Regions from separate parts of the Homo sapiens genome. Here region 1 is linked to region 2. Evidence: promoter capture Hi-C in 16 types of primary human blood cells and fetal thymus (Javierre and others, 2016). All regions are on one chromosome and are shown on one strand. The core of a region is centred on a gene start or on the middle of the fragment in contact, and the rest is flanking DNA. Distances in the headings are between cores, read along the strand shown.

What was found. The method cuts DNA at HindIII sites, captures the fragments that hold promoters and counts their contacts. A CHiCAGO score of 5 or more calls a contact.
Region 1: a contact is called between the fragment with the promoter of B3GNT2 here and the fragment with the promoter of C2orf74-AS1 in region 2, in 1 of 17 cell types (neutrophils). The highest score is 6.0, in neutrophils.

Annotation. Positions count from the first base shown.
Region 1 is chr2:62,193,996-62,197,370 of GRCh38, forward strand. It overlaps B3GNT2 (UDP-GlcNAc:betaGal beta-1,3-N-acetylglucosaminyltransferase 2), which reads left to right and starts at 2,120. Exons shown (of 2, transcript NM_006577.6): 1 at 2,120-2,360. It overlaps LOC124906013 (a long non-coding RNA gene), which reads right to left and starts at 2,018. Exons shown (of 2, transcript XR_007086336.1): 1 at 1,144-2,018; 2 at 1-912. RefSeq lists enhancers at 605-1,212, 1,819-2,425 and silencers at 1,506-1,735, 2,026-2,465, 2,646-2,995. The HindIII fragment of the contact is 10,818 bases long and covers 1-3,375 here.
Region 2 is chr2:61,176,543-61,180,030 of GRCh38, forward strand. C2orf74-AS1 (C2orf74 antisense RNA 1) reads right to left here and starts at 1,743. Exons shown (of 2, transcript NR_183879.1): 1 at 1,564-1,743. It also overlaps the pseudogene AHSA2P. RefSeq lists a silencer at 649-1,198. The HindIII fragment of the contact is 7,287 bases long and covers 1-3,488 here.

The DNA of each region.
Region 1 (3,375 bases), core at 870-3,369, 1.0 Mb after region 2:
ATCAGACAGCAGCCTAGAGATATCTTTATTTAAACCCAGGAACATGGACTCAATATTATTTTGATACAGAATGAAGACATAGACTTCATTTATTAATTTATACTCCCTAGAGTTCTTTTTTTTTTTTTGAGACAGAGTCTCACTCTGTCACCCAGGCTGGAGTACAGTGGCACGATTTCGGCTTACTGCAACCTCCGCCTCCCTGAGTTCGGCGATTGTCCTGCCTCAGCCTCCCAAGTGGCTGGGATTACAGGTACATGTCACCATTAATTTTTGTATTTTTAGTAGAAACAGGGTTTCACCATGTTGGCCAGACAGGTCTCGAACTCCTGACCTTGTGATCCACCCGCCTCGGCCTCCCAAAGTGCTGGGATTACAGGCGTGAGCCACCGCGCCCGGCCTCTACTTCCTAGAGTTCTTAGAGAATTTCTAGCTTCTGTTTCTTTAAACATGTTTTATTAGCTTTCTAAATTATGAAAGTAAATACAACTGGAAAAATACAAAATCCAAAGTCAAGGGAGTAAAAAAATGTAACTCCCTTGTTTCCCCTCCCCGCGTAACCGTGGTTAACAGTCGGTGTGCACCCTTACAGATGTTTTTTCTATGAAAATACAAACATTCGACTTGTTTCTTGGACTTTACCTCGCAGTCCGAGGAGAATCATGTGAACAGCATGAAAGCAGCATGGTCCGAAGACTGCAAACCATAACATTTCCATATCTACTGACTCTGAATTCCTGTTTCTAGAGGACCCGCACCCACGTGGCTCTGTGCATCCGCAGCAACTTGGTCTTTCTTCCTTTGCTGAGTTTGGTTAAGGGAAAGGGCCGATTATTGAGTGGGCTCAGTTCACAGGTGCCTGAAATTCCTACTTAGCAATGTTCCTTTCCAGCTGATTCCGCCTCCGAGAGCCTTAGGAAAAAATGCTAACAGTTAGGAGCGAAGCGTCCTTAATTGCTCAGTCCAATTATCTAGATGGGTCCAGGTTCGGTTTCGATTCAGAGATAAGGACCAGGGGGCGGGGACGCTTCCAGGTGAGCCCCTGGTTAGGCTTGCCTCCCCGCGGAGCGCACGCGGGTCTCGCTGGCTGGACTGGGCCTTTCAAGACCAGGTAACTTCTCCATCCGGTATCGCCAGGCTTACCTGGGGGCCTCAGAATTGTGTCAGCTGCGTCTCTGAGTCACCTTGGAACCCCTCGAAGGAGCGCGGGGCTAGGAGGGCGCATCGGTGGGCCCGGGGACCCCGCTGCTAGGTGTGGTTGGCGCCAAGGCCGCCTCTGGCCGGCGGAGCCCTGCAGTGTCCGGAGGGTGCGGTCAGAGTCCGGCCCTTTAGGCCTTGCCTCGGTATCCGCCTTGCCCCTTGGGCCGCGGCACGGGTTCGGGCCGAGCGCCCGGCATCTTGCGTTTCTGGCTTCCTGAGACGGGCGTGGGACCTCGAGGAAACCACTCTGCATGACCCCACGAAGAGAACTAAGGACCACCCCCCACCCTTCCTGTCCTGGACGGCTTCATAAGCCAGAGGATCCAGTGGCAGTACCAAGCAGGGCACCACTCTGGGTCGTGAGCACCTAAGAGGTGGAGCAAAGGTCAGACCCCAGGGTGGCCCAGGCCTCCCTCCCCCGCCTCCCCGGCGGGGCCATTCCTCACCCGCCCCAGCACTGGAGGGGGCGGCCGGGGTCGGTCTAGTTCCGGTTACAAACTGGACAGAAAAGGCCACTGGAGTCTCGCTAGGCGATGCGCCTAGTCCCCTAGCCTCAGACGAACCGCAAGAGGGGCCACCCACAACTGGAGGGGCGGAGGCTGGAGCTGAGTTTCATTAGTGTTTTTGGAGCTGCCAGGCATTTCCAGGGGGGTCGCCTTCCTAGAGGCCCCCTTTCCCCAGCTTAACCCTCGGCTTTGCAGGAGGGTGCGTGGGGGCTGGAGGGTCCCTGGAAGCCGCAGGGAGCGCGGGCCCGGGTGGGTCCTGGTACCGGGTGGGGAGAGCGGAACCCTCCCAAAACTTGGGGCGCGGGGCGGGGCCGTCGGGCGGTGACGTGAGGGGCGGGGCCGGGCCCCATTGGCGGGCGGGCAGGGGAGGGGCGGGGCCGGGCGCCCGCGGCGGCTGCTGCGCCTGGAACCGGAGCCTGGAGTGAGGCGCAGCGGCAGCGGCAGCAGCGGCAACAAGTGCCGGAGGCTAGCAGAGCCAAGCCGGAGCAGTCCCTGCCGCCGACACCGCCGGGCCGCCCGTCCGGGGCGCCGCGCATGGAGCGTGAGCTGCGGCGGTCGCCGGGCTGAGCCGCGCGGAGCGGCCGGGACGTGGATGTGGCCGCGATCTCCCGCCCTTGCCCCCGCCCCGCCGAGCTGGAGCTGCTCCCGGACAAGGTAGGGCCCGGGCGCCGAGCACCCCCGCCGGCTCCCTCCCCGCTGCCCTCTCACCGCCAGGCCCCTCTACCAGTCCCCTTCCGCCTCCCTGCTTCCCGGCCCCACCTTCCGGACACCCTGCTACCCCCGCCCGGTTCCTCGCCGGTTCCGGCTTCGTACCCGCGCCCCGGTGGAGGAAGCCGTCCCTAGGTGGCTCCTGCCGCATTTAAGCCTCCCTTACCTTCCCGCCGTCCCAGCCACCCAACCTCAGCCCAGAGGGAGAGGAGAGGGACACCGCCCGCTGCGGGGCTTTGGAACCTCCCAACCCATTCCGTGCCCACCTCGCCCTGGAGCCCGGGGACCTTCCCCCTCCTCGCTGCACCCCAACTTCCGGGGGATCCGGCGCCGGGGCGATGCGGGCTTTGGCAAGGGGCATCTGGGGCCGGGCCTCCTCATCCGGGGCGCGCGGGCATTTCGGGGAGGGGGGCGCGCGTGATTCCTCGCTCGCACCCCCGCACCCCACCCTCGCACTGCGCCGGCCTCCCGTGCCGCATGGGGAGATCAGGTGTTTTGTGAGCCAAAGAGCCGCCGGCAGCCGCTCCCCACCCCCCACCCCCAACCTCTGCCACTTCTGTCTCCGGCTCCCCCAAAACTGGTTTCTGCCAAACTTAGGGAAAACCTTTCGCTTTGACCTTTTAAAAAAAATATTCCACACTGTTTGCGTTGAATGATTAACCAGGCTGCTAGCCCGAGTCGTGGGGGTGGGGTGGGGCGGGGTGGGGTGGGTGCTGCCAGGCCAGGGAGCGCCTGAAGCCGGACTCTACGAGACACCCCTCGTGGGAAGGTGGGCGTGGGGGGCCCTGCCGGGGCTGCGGGCGCGGGACTGGCGGCTACTCCAGCACGGCAGGCGGACCCTTCTGGAGGCAATAAACCGAGTCACCCGGTTAATTTCCAGGCCACGGTATTTGAAACTCGGGGCTGGGGAGCCGCAGAACTCCCTGTACCCCCATCAAGTAGAGGAGCCGTCGGGAGACTC
Region 2 (3,488 bases), core at 493-2,992:
TCCGGTAGGCAAATGGAGAAAATGTCTCCACTCGTGAGTGTATTTCGTGGATGACCGCAGGCAAAGGACAGGTCGGCACAGGGGAAGAGAACAGTCAGATGCTTCCACCTTTTCACTGTTCTACCCATTTCTGTGCTAACTACCCATGTAGTTAGCAGAGAACACCCCAGTAACATTGTCCAAATAGTTCGTGCAAAGTTTTAGCTAGAAGCCGAAAATTCGTGAAAGGAATCATTAATACTCCATGATAAAGTGCATCAGTTTGCAGTAACATGCGTTTGCAATCACATTCTTTCGTTCTCTCTAAAGGATTATTACGTGAATAAAATGGAAATACTCCCGCAGTAACATGGGACTAGTTGGAAAGGTGCCGGGAAGGGGGGAGGGCGAGAGACTGCGTCGCGGAAAAAACCGCAGCGCGGCAACTGGGCGCGGACTCGCTCTTAGGCGAAATCCGCAAACGGTGTGACGTGTGCGCGCTGTGGCCCCAAAGGCCGGTCTTACAGCGACCTGGGCGTTCGAGGTCGTGTCCTCGAGAGCTATAGGGAGCCTGCCGAGGCCACCTGACGGCGGTGTCGCGTCTACACTGCCGGTTGGACTCTCAGGCACCCGCTACTCAGCGCCCTGCTTCCCGGCGCCGGGAATCACGAGCCCGCCAGCACCGCGGGACTTGCAGCGCCCTCCGCCCTTCGCAGGCGGCCCAGACAGCCCCGTCCCGCCCTAGCGTTAGGAGACGCGCAGCGGAACCCCGGCGGCCCCAGCCCCTCCCCGCCCGCGCGTCCCCGCGTCCCCGCGTCCCCGCGCGACCCGCCTCCCAGATCCCGGCTGGGGCTCCCGGGCGCGCCGCGGCAGGGCGGGGCGGGGCCGGGGGCGGGGCCTTCTGGCAGTTTCTGGGAGCTGCGAACGCGCCGCCCCGGGGCTCGGCGGCCGGAAACGCTGGCTTCGGAGCCTTAGGCGCCGCGGCCTTTCCTTGTTTTCCGCCCAGTCCACGCCGCCATGGCCAAGTGGGGCCAGGGGAACCCCCACTGGATCGTGGAGGAGCGGGAGGACGGGACCAACGTGAACAACTGGCGCTGGCGCGGCTGGCGGCGGCCTCCTTCCGGGATCTGGGGAGGGCCGGGCCGCGGGAGCCGGGGCTGCCCTGGGGTCTGTGCGGGGCCGCGGGGCCAGGGGGTCAGGGGGCCGCCCCCCCTCAGCTGCTGGACGCAGGGCTCGGCCTTCGCCTCTCGGCTCGGGAGAGTCCTTGAGTACGGAGACCGGCTAGGAGGGTTGCAGCTGCCTCTTTTTGAAAGTTGGGTTGGGCCCCAAGAGTGACTTCCGACAGACCTTTCCACTCCCACCGTCTGTGGCCTGAGGGCCTTCCCTTCTCCTCCCGCCCACCCCTCTGGATGTTTCGGGGAGTTAGAAGGGAGCTGGATTGAGAGACTGTGTTAGGGGCGGGGGTATGGAACGTAGTGGAAAGGGCAGAAATTTGGATCTCAGTTCGCGCCCACCCCGCAGGCGCCTCCCGCGAGCCGGGCCCTCTGTGAGTGAGACAAGCTCCCCTTCCTTTACGCGCCTCACCTGGCGCGTGGGGAGAGGTCGGCAGCCCTCCGCCGCAGAACCTCCGGAAGGGATGTCCTCTGCCCTGCGCCTCTGGCCGGGGCTGTGGTCCCTCCAGGCCGTCGAGGGGATGCTGAGGCCGGTCCCCAGAGGAGCATGACTTGGCTGGTCCGGAGGAGCTCTGAGGGCATGGGCAATCTTGGCTCGCTGCAACCTCAGCTTCCAGAGTTCAAGCGAGTCTCCTGCTTCAGCCTCATGAGTAGCTGGGACTACAGATGCGTGCCACTACGTCCGTCTGATGTTTGTATTTTTAGTAGAGACAGGGTTTCACCATGTTGGTCAGGCTGCTCTCGAACTCCAGATCTCGTGATCCGCCCGCCTGGGCCTACTAAAGTGCTGGGATTACAGGCGTGAGCTAGATCTGACTTTCTAGTGTCCTAGCCTTGGCCCGATGGACATGTCATTTCTCTCAGCTCGTTTCTGTCCCCTAAAGTGAGAATATTGCCTGGGAAGATTACATTAGACGATGTATATGCGAAGACACTTGATAGCTGGTATTGTCATGATTCTGATTAGTTCACTACTGCTACTTTCCCTGTGGCCTAGGCTTTGCCTATTTCCAGTGGGCGAGCTAGCTAGATCCTCCTCCCTTAAATAAGCCAGTGTTTTTAAGACAGAATACTACTTGCATAGTGGACAATAATATCTTAAAGAACTGAGCAGGATGAAAAGAATTTGATAGAAAGCAGGTTTGAGGAGCACATTGGAGGTTGGCAGGTTTCGAGGCTGCTTGAGAGGACTTGGGCCGATCTGGGCTGGGCTTGGACGTGACCCTGGCACCCAGGCAGGTGGATCCCAGCTGGGGCTTCCATTCACGACTTTCTGGTCCCTGGCAGGACAGAGCGGGATGCCACCAGCTTGTCCAAAGGGAAGTTCCAGGAGCTCCTGGTGGGCATCGTTGTGGAGAATGACGCTGGCCGCGGCGAGATCAACGAGTTGAAGCAGGTGGAAGGGGAGGCTTCGTGCAGCAGCCGCAAAGGAAAGCTGATTTTCTTCTATGAGTGGAACATCAAACTGGGCTGGAAAGGTAACAGGGGCCTCAGGGTACTAGTGGGGCTGGGGACAAAGTGCGTTCATCATTCAGCGAATGTTTTTACAGCCCCTGCTATGGGCCTGGCACACTGACTGGCTCCTGAATCAGCGTTGGTAGATCCTGACACTCTGGCCACACTTGAGTTCCATGGGCCAAGAAGGATGGGGATTTCCCTTCTCGCAGCACTCGCAGCTGCTTAGAGCTCATTGCTGTCAGCTGGGCCCTCTTCTACCAGGCCCTTGTGAACAGGAGTCTCCCGGCATTGCTGCCTGGAGCACTCTTCCCCCAGGTAGCTGCCTGCCTCCTTCAGGTCTTTGTCCTGAGTAAAGCCATCTCTGTGCATCCTTGGAGACTCCTGCCTTGTGCCATCTTTCTTCCCTACTTTATTTTTCCCCAAGGCACTGAAACTTGCTTTACAAAACTATTTTGCTTACTGTCCTGCTCCCTCTTTCTGTCATTCAGTAGGGTAGGGATTTCTTTTAAAAACGGCTTTTTTGAGACATAATTCACTCATTTAGTGTGTATAATTTATTGGTTTTCGGTATAGTCACAGAGTTGTGCAGCCATCACTACAATCAATTTAGGAACATTTCACCACCCCAAAACAAAACCCTGGACCCATGAGCAGTCACTCTTGTTGCCCTCCTCTTCCCCAGTCCCTGGTGTCTGCTCACCCGTTTTCTCTGGATTGGCCTCTGAACATTTCACATAGATGAATCATGTAGGATGTGTTTTTTGGTGTCTGCCTTCTTTTACTTCATAATGTGTTCAACGGTCATCTGTGTTGTGTCAGGTAGCAGCACTTTATTCTTTTTTATAGCTGATGAATATTCCACGGGTGCATATACTGCAT